Regions from separate parts of the Homo sapiens genome. Here all the other regions are linked to region 2. Evidence: promoter capture Hi-C in 16 types of primary human blood cells and fetal thymus (Javierre and others, 2016). All regions are on one chromosome and are shown on one strand. The core of a region is centred on a gene start or on the middle of the fragment in contact, and the rest is flanking DNA. Distances in the headings are between cores, read along the strand shown. Region 1 overlaps NUP133 (nucleoporin 133). Region 2 holds the start of CCSAP (centriole, cilia and spindle associated protein). Region 3 overlaps NUP133 (nucleoporin 133).

Region 1 (3,047 bases), core at 127-2,626, 130 kb before region 2:
TGTGTGGGTCTACATAATATGCAGGCTGTTTTCAACCAAATGCGGATCAAAAATTCACAGCATGTTTTCAACCAAATGCGGATCAGAAATTCACTTGCTTATGCAGAAGGTCGCCTTTTTGTATGCTGGAGCTCCACAGAGCCAGCTGCAGGACTTGAATATGGGTGGATTTTGGTGTATGTTGGGGGTCCTGTAACTAATCCCCTGTGTATACTGAGAGATGACTGTACTGTAATAAAAATATGTGAGTGTGGTTGGTCTCTCTCTCTCTCTCTGTCTCTGTCATCTGTTTTCAGACTGCAGTTGACTGCAGGTAACTGTGACTGTGGGAAGTGAAACCATGAATAAGAGGGGACTACTGTACATCAGATCCAGCAGTAACCTAACTGGATTTTTCTCTTTCCTGTCTTTTCCTTTCTGCAGTAACCTCCTAACTGGATTTTTCTCTTGTCTGATCTGACATCTGATCCCCTCTCCATATGATAGAGCAATCTTTTGGGACACTGGAACAGACTGTGACACTCCTTTACAGTGCCTGTCCATTGTCCTTGGTATTAGGTTCAAACCCCATAACATGGTTTACAAGACCGTGTCCTCTAATTTTGTGATTCATCCCTTCTCAGTATCCCTCGTTTCTTCATGTGTGCCATAGTTAATCCCCTGGTGGGTTCATTGACACCCTAGTTGTCCCCTAATCTCTCTAAGTTAGAAGAGTCTGCTGCTTTTTATGGGCTTACCCTTCCTTTAATTGGTTATCCTGCAAGTTTTTTCCAAACTCTTGCTCCCTGGGTGATCTCAGCCTCTCCCGTAGCCTCAGTTCTCTCCTGAGATAGAGGCTTACTTGCGGACGGATGTGGATGTATGTTCTGTGTGCAGCTGTATACCCCTCCCCCAGTTCTCCCCAGCCTTCCATGACCTCCTCTTTACCTGTTAGGAAGTTTTCCCTGTCTCTCTCGGTGTTTATCACCTGTGTCATTGCTTGCTCAATTGTCTGGACTATTTTTAAGTCTTTTTATCTTTCTGTGTCCAGAGCCGAGCATGTTCTAAGTATTCAATGTGTATTTATTGAATTAATGAATGGATAATAGTTTTCTCCCTTTTAATTAAATAAATTTTATTAAAAGTAACTTTGAGCCAAAACCTATAAATGGTTTTTAGGTTACATTTAACTTCACAATTAACTTAAAATTTTTTTTTTATTTTTATGGGTACATAGTAGGTGTATACGTTTGTGGGGTACATGAGATATTTTCATACGGGCATACAATGCGTAATAATCACATCAGGGTAAATGGGATATCCGTCACCTCAAGCATTCATCTTTTTTGTATGTTGTGAACATTCTAATTATGCTCTTAGTTACTTTAAAATGTACACTAAATTATTGAACATGTAAAGTTTGTTACATGTCTTTCGTGCCTGACTTATTTCACTTAACATGTCCTCCAGTTCCATCCCTACTGTTGCGAATGACAGGATCGCATTCTTTTTTTTGGCTGAATAGTAGTCCATAATTAATTTTTTCTTGGTGAGTTTTGAAAATATTTTGCCTCCCTTAATACTTGTGTTTTCCAATTTTATTTCAGAAAAGATTTAGGTCATGCTCAAATGGTGGTTGATGAGCTCTTTTCCTCTCACTCTGATTTGGATTCTGATTCTGAACTAGACAGGGCAGTTACCCAAATCAGTGTAGACCTGATGGATGACTACCCAGCATCTGACCCACGGTGGGCTGAGTCTGTCCCTGAGGGTAAGAATGTTTCAATTATGGAACGGTGTGTTTTGAACATATTCTGGTTTCTTTATTAGAAGCATCTCTTAAAGCATATTTTTTAGCTTCTCAAACAATTTAATATTAATTCAATATTTTTTAAAATATTGTGACCTTCCTTTTTTTTTTTTTTTTTGAGACAGAGCAAGGCTCTGTCACCCAGGCTGGAGTGCAGTGGCGCGATCTTGGCTCACTGCAAGCTCCACCTCCCAGGTTCACGCCATTCTCCTGCCTCAGCCTCCCGAGTAGCTGGGACTACAGGTGCCCGCCACCATGGCTGGCTAATTTTTTTGTATTTTTGGTAGAGACGGGGTTTCACTGTGTTAGCCAGGTTGGTCTTGATCTCCTGACCTCGTGATCCACCCACCTCGGCCTCCCAAAGTGCTGGGATTACAGGTGTGAGCCACCAGGCCCGGCCAGGTAACCTTCCTTATAGTATGTTTTGAAAAAGGGTCAGAACAGGTCTAGATAACAGAATGGAAACTAAAGGAACATTGGAGCAAATCCTAATTGTTCTATCCAAGGCAGATTAATTGCCTTACTTAGCTTTCCTGGCTTTTATTTCTAAAAGAAAATTGGTTGCATAGGTAGACAGTTGGCACTTACCTGCCCCCCAATCCCAGTTTTTTTTTTTGTTTTTTTTTTTTGGAAACAGGGTCTCCCTTACTTTGTCACCCAGACTGGAATGCAGTGGCACGATCTCAGCTAACTGCAACCTCCACCTCCTGGGTTCAAGTGATACTCCCACCTCAGCCTCCTGAGTAGCTGAGATTACAGGTGTGCACCACCATGCCCAGCTAATTTTTGTATTTTTAGTAGAGATGTAGTTTTACCATGTTGGCCAGGCTGGTCTTGAACTCCTGACCTCAGGTGGTCCACCCGCTTTGATCTCCCAAAGTGCTGGGATTTCAGGTGTAAGCCACCACACCCAGCCTACTTACCCCCAAATTAAATGATAATTTTGGCATAATCAGTATATTTGACTAATAGAAATGATCCATTCCCCTAAGAGCAGCAGTGATCAAATGTCAATATGTAGAAGTGGACAAGACATGTCTAGCTGCCTGTCCCAGGTGACTGCCCCTCTTACTCTTACTTCCACCTCAGAAACTCGAGGGGAACTCTGGGGTCCCCAGATACCAGGGAACTGTCTCAAACATGTTTCTCTCCCTAATTATCCTACTTCTTAGCAAGTTCACTAAGCTCCATTAGAGATTTAGGAAGAAAACATGAGAGCTCATCTCCTTTCTTTGACTGTTTTTGTTGGCACTGTCAA
Region 2 (2,916 bases), core at 208-2,707:
GCGTCCGCGGACTCATTAGCAGCAGGGTATCCTGGAGTTTCCGTCCAGAAAACTGCCATTAACACAATCCCGTGCTAATGATTGGACTAGTAACTTCAAGTTTTCAGAGCAGACGGTCTGACCCGCCCCATTTGGGCCAGTAGCCGCCTCTGAATCATTTAGCTATGATGAGGTGGGCGGTGGTGGTGGGAGGCAGGATGCGGACACGTAGAAAGTAGGTGAATTCGTGGGAATCCTGACGTGGAAGCCGTGAGCGCTACTCACGGCCTGGGCTTGCTTTTTAACTGCTATATATATATTTAGATTTTCCAAAAGTTTTTTCCTTTCAAATCTTTTTGCAGCTACTGTATCAAGGCTCTTTTTTTAAGAAAGGGAAAATAGTGCAGGACCACTTCTGAAACTGTAACAAATGGGGCAACGTTGTATTCTTCTGTACAATGTAACTGGATCTGTGAAGGTTTTTATTTTTTATTTTTTATTTTTTTTGAGACGGAGTCTTGCTCTGTCGCCCAGGCTGGAGTGCAGTGGCGCAATCTAGGCTCACTGCAAGCTCCGCCTCCCGGGTTCACGCCATTCTCCTGCCTCAGGCTCCCGAGTAGCTGGGACTACAGCCGTTCACCACCACGCCGGGCTAATTCTTTTTATTTTTATTTTTTTAGTAGAGATGGGGTTTCACTGTGTTAGCCAGGATGGTCTCGATCTCCTGACCTCGTGAGCCACCCGCCTCGGCCTCCCAAAATGCTGGGATTACAGGCGTGAGCCACAGCGCTCAGCCGGATCTGTGGAGGTTTTATGAGCAAAAAGGGAAAACAGTGCGGGGCCACTTTTGAAACTGTAACAAATGGGGCAACGTTGTATACTTCTGCACAAAGTAACTGGATCTGTGAAGGTTTTATGTGTAAAAAGGGAAAAGAGTGTGGGGCCACTTTTGAAACTGTAACAAATGGGACAACTTTGTATACTTCTGCACAACGTAAGTTAATCTGTCAAGCTTTTATGTGCAAACGAATCTCTGAGCGAGTGAAATGGTTTTGATCAAAATCTAAAAGAATTTGGGGAGTGTAGATATAAAAGGGAGTTAAAGCCAGAGTAACAGGTGTTGTGAACACAGAGAGGAAGAACCGGTAGGTTTCGAGTGAGGACAGAGAGTGTCGCCCCCGGCCGCAGCCTGGGGGGGCTGCATATCTGGAGGGATCATCTCTTGCCCCTAACTGACGACTCCTGCAGAGTGACGCGTGCCTGGGACAGCGTCTGCTGGGACCAGGGTGGACGGGCACCTCAAATAAGTGGGCCAGGGACCTGGGCCTGGGCCCCTCGGACTGGCAGGCACGCCCGCACCCCCGCGCCTCGCGCTCTCTACGGAAGCAGCCGCCCCCACGGAGCGGGCGGAGGCCCGGGGGCCGGGAGCGCGCGTGGAGGCTCCGGGACTGAGGCGGCGCCACCGCCTCCCGCCTGCAGCTGGAGCGCGGGCCGCCGCGGCGACATCTTGCTCAGGAGGAAAGCGCGCGGGAGAGCGAGCTGCGCTTTAGCTGCTGCGCCACGCGCGCCTCGGGCCTGGGCGCAGAGGATCGGCCGGGCGCGGCGGGAAGGAGGTAAGGCAGCCCCGCGGGACCGCACGCCTAGCTCAGGGGACGCCTCCGGAGACCCCAGGACCACCCGATCACGGGCCCCGCCGCTCCCCTCCCTCGCTCCTCCTCCCGCTCAGCCCCAGTCTCCTGCGGTCCCCTCGCCCCAGCCCGCAGCCTCCCTGCCTTCCGCCCACTGAGCAGCCCTCCTCGGCGGCGCGCCCCTCGACCCCAGCAGCCCCGGTCCCCGCCTCTGCTCTTGGTCCCGGCCGCCGGGTGAGGCCGCCCCCGCCCCGCCCCCTCCCCGCCCTCGCCGGGACCCGCCCCCTGCTCCCGTCCGGGCGGGGCTCCGGGTTTAAACGTCGCGGCGGGCAGGGCCGGCGGAGGGGCGGGGCGGCCTCTGTGTCGTGTACCGGGTCCCGTAGGCTGCGGGCAGCGAGGAGCGGCTGGCGCTCGAGGCGGCGGACGGCACCATGTCCCCGGGGAGCGGGGTGAAGAGCGAGTACATGAAGCGCTACCAGGAGCCGCGCTGGGAGGAGTACGGGCCGTGCTACCGCGAGCTGCTGCACTACCGCCTAGGCCGCCGGCTGCTGGAGCAGGCGCACGCGCCCTGGCTCTGGGACGACTGGGGCCCGGCCGGCTCCTCGGAGGACTCGGCGTCGTCAGAGTCGTCGGGCGCCGGGGGCCCCGCACCCCGGTGCGCCCCGCCCTCGCCCCCGCCGCCCGTAGAGCCGGCGACCCAGGAGGAGGCGGAACGGCGGGCGCGCGGGGCCCCGGAGGAGCAGGACGCGGAGGCCGGGGACGCGGAGGCCGAGGACGCGGAGGACGCGGCTCTGCCAGGTACCCGGCCCGGAGGGGAGCGCGAGGGGCCTGCACGCAGGGACGGTTTGCTCTAAGCTCTGAGCAGCTGATCTCTTATTTCTTGCGCCACTCGGGGCTGGCTCTTCCTTTTTTTTTTTTCGGTTGACAGAATCCGTCTCTCTTGACAAAATAGGGAAGGTGGCAGCCTTTGCCACCCTTTATTTCCTTAATTAGGTGGCTTTCGGTCGAGCCAGCGGTGAACTCAATTGAAGCGCCGCTGGCTGAGTCTGGGGTCTTTCCTCGCGGGCCTCTGCGGCTTGGCAAACCTCTGAATCCCATCTTATTTCTTGGCGAACCACTGAGTCCCATCTGCTTATTTCTAGGCGCCCATTTTTGATCAGAGGAGCCCCAGCTTTAATCAGATTCTCAAAGGTAACCCAAAAGGTTAAGAACCACAGAGCTAAGCTTTGTCTGATGAATGGGGCCATTGTTTTCCGTATTAACTCCCCGACCTCGCTACGCTGTCCCTAAAGAATATTTTGCATTTGTT
Region 3 (3,014 bases), core at 306-2,805, 160 kb before region 2:
TTTCAAAGAACTCCTTACTGTGAAAATATATACATAAAAAATTAGGATAATGGAGAATTTTAAGTTACAAGTAAGGTAATATAGACTCTTTTCTTTAGGGGAACACCAACACGAATGTTCCCACACCACTCCATAACTGAGTCTGTGAACTATGATGTGAAAACGTTTGGATCTTCTCTTCCTGTTAAAGTCATGGAAGCCCTAACATTGGCTGAAGGTAGGTGTCATCTTTCCATTTACCTATATTAGCAGTTTAAAATGGAGCCTAGATGTGGCATAGAGATTAAATTTATGTTTTCTCTAGTATACCTTTACGTAAATGGTGAGAGATGGGTGGCCTGTCTAGTGTTTTTTTATTTTTATTTTTTCGAGACAGAGTCTCACTCTGTCACCCAGGCTGGAGTGCAGTGGTGTGATCTCAGCTCACTGCAACCACCACCTCCCAGGTTCAAGCGAGTTTCCTGCCTCAGCCTCCCAAGTAGCTGGGATTATAGGTGTGAGCCACCACGCCCAGCTAATTTTTTGTATTTTTAGTAGAGACAGGGTTTCACCATGTTGGCCAGGCTGGTCTTGAACTCCTGACCTCAGGTGATCTGCCCTCCTTGGCCTCCCAAAGTGCTGGGATTACAGGCGTGAGCCACCACATCTGGCCACCTGTCTTAGTTTTTTTTTTTTTTTTTTTTTTTTTTTTTAACTGTAATTGAGATGTATAATACATTCGAGAAGGAGAATGAGTTCATTTGAACACAATCAAATTAAGTCTTTAATGGTTTTAGGTACTGTACAGTAGTCCCCCATTATCTTTGGGGGATATCTTCCAGGATCCCCAGTGGATGCCTGAAACCTTGTATAGTACTAAACCTTATATATACTGTGTTTTTTTAATACATACACACCTATGATAAACTTTAGTTTATAAATTAGGAACAGTAAAGATGAACAACAGTAATAATAAAGTAGAACAATTATAACAATATACCAGCAGCACTACTCTTGTACTTCGTTTGGGGTCATTAACTAAAATGAGAATATAAGCATTGCATTACTGCGACAGTTCATCTGGTAACTGAGACAGCTACTAAGTGACAAACAGCTGGATAGTCTCAGGGGTGTCCAATCTTTTGGCTTCCCTGGGCCACTTGGAAGAAGAATTGTCTTGGGTCACACATAAAATACACTTACGATAGCTGATGAGCTAAAAATAAATAATGAAAAGGTCTGTGTATAAATCTTATCATGTTTTAAGAAAGTTTACAAACTTGTGTTGGACCGCATTCAAAGCTGTCCTGGGCCACACGTGTCCCTGGGCCATGGGTTGGACAAGCTTGGGGTATACAGTATGGATATGCTGCACAAAGGGTTGATTCACAACCTTTAGGCAGGACAGTATGAGATTTTATCACTTTACCCAGAACAGCATGCAATTTACAACTTAGGAATTGTTCATTTGAATTTTCCATTTAATATTTTCAGACTACGATTGACCACAGGTATTTGAAACTGCAGATAAAAGGGGGAAATACTGTATATGCAAAATTCAGTCCTGTTTACAGAGTTGATCAGGTTTATGAAGTTTCCCGTGAAACCCCAAAACTGGCACCTCATGTTATTGGGTTTAATAATACAGTAAAATCAAGTCCTACCTCCATTTCTGGATCCTATGTAGCATCCCAGAGGCTGTGTGCACAAATTTATGACGTTACCATTGTCGTGGTGTACCTTTAGAAGCGTCTGTTGGTGGAGAATTAGTGTGGAATTTTGACAGATACAATCAACACAAGCTTAGAAAGGCAACTTTAAAGATGAGCAGTTGGATGACACTGGAAGAGCAAAGTTCAGAGCAGCCTTAATATCTGCTGAAGTCATTTTTATTAAGGCTTGAATTCTAGATCTTTGTGATTTTTCTGGAACAGTATTTTTCAAATTGTAGGGGTGACCAAAATTTAGCGGTTCTTGACCAGCATTTAAAAAAAGAAGAAATAGAATGCATCTCATATGTTTAGTAAATTTTGTTCGTTTTACTTAAATTGTATATGGGTGTATCGTGATGTAAAATGTATTATACTGTGAATAACTCTATTTACTGTATAACTTAATAACAGTAAAAAAAAAATGCTGAAATTACTCTGTTTTAGAAGAAGGAATATATCTCATCAACTGGAACTTGGCACATCTTGCCTGTAGGTCCTTGGGAGCTTTAGGGATAGTTGTTTTCAGACAACTACTAACCTTTCTATACATTGTTCTGTTTTAAATAAATAAATGTATATATATATATTGGTATATATGTGTATATTTTTCCCCTCTAAAAATTTCAGTTTACATTTAAACCTTTTAATGTACTACTCATATTTTAACAGACTAGATTAAATAACACAGCCCCAAATCTAGAAATTCAGAGAGTCCTTAGAAATTAGGATATATAAAACAAAGAGGTGTGTCAACTTGAAGAACTCTTCCCCACTTAGAAACCTGCCAACTACTGTTAAGTCAGCCCTTAAAGGCACACCGGTCGAGGATCTGGAGTTGTAGTGCTTTCAAGAAAAAGAAAATTACTGAGCAGATAGTTCAGTTGAGCAAAAAGCCTCACTCAGCCTGGGCTTGGTTTGATATTTTTGCTTGTACATTGTCTATGCCTTTTACTTCACCCTTCTACCTTTCTGTAAGTAAAGAGCAAAGCTCAACTTAATAAAATTTCCAGGGCTGTTAACACATTTGTGGAGGTTTACCACCAATACTTAAGATATGTGCTAATTTAGTTTTGTCACTTAATAGAGAACGTAACTCTTTGTCTCCATGTACTAAATAATTTATCATTCCTTTAAGGAGCTCTTATTTGAAAATTATGTGCTTTTGGTCCTCCAAAAGCACATTGTTTTCCTTGAAATGTTTTATATAGTTAATGAGTTTGTTATTTGTTTTACTTTATCGATATAATTATAAATGTTGCTAAATATTTCTTTTTTGTTTGTTTGTTTTGAGACAGAGTCTTGCTCTGTTGCCCAGGCTGGAGT

What was found. The method cuts DNA at HindIII sites, captures the fragments that hold promoters and counts their contacts. A CHiCAGO score of 5 or more calls a contact.
Region 1: a contact is called between a fragment that was not itself captured here and the fragment with the promoter of CCSAP in region 2, in 3 of 17 cell types (total B cells, naive B cells and M2 macrophages). The highest score is 7.4, in total B cells.
Region 3: a contact is called between a fragment that was not itself captured here and the fragment with the promoter of CCSAP in region 2, in 1 of 17 cell types (total CD8 T cells). The highest score is 5.8, in total CD8 T cells.

Annotation. Positions count from the first base shown.
Region 1 is chr1:229,476,300-229,479,346 of GRCh38, reverse strand. NUP133 (nucleoporin 133) reads left to right here. Exons shown (of 26, transcript NM_018230.3): 13 at 1,587-1,750. Among named protein-coding and RNA genes, the nearest start is that of NUP133, 31 kb to the left of the region's middle. RefSeq lists a silencer at 247-356. The HindIII fragment of the contact is 3,349 bases long and covers 1-3,047 here.
Region 2 is chr1:229,341,588-229,344,503 of GRCh38, reverse strand. CCSAP (centriole, cilia and spindle associated protein) reads left to right here and starts at 1,457. Exons shown (of 4, transcript NM_145257.5): 1 at 1,457-1,592; 2 at 1,991-2,405. The coding sequence starts at 2,039. RefSeq lists silencers at 8-302, 1,149-2,008, 2,209-2,408. The HindIII fragment of the contact is 1,840 bases long and covers 994-2,833 here.
Region 3 is chr1:229,503,243-229,506,256 of GRCh38, reverse strand. It overlaps NUP133 (nucleoporin 133), which reads left to right. Exons shown (of 26, transcript NM_018230.3): 2 at 99-217. Among named protein-coding and RNA genes, the nearest start is that of NUP133, 3.6 kb to the left of the region's middle. The HindIII fragment of the contact is 457 bases long and covers 1,327-1,783 here.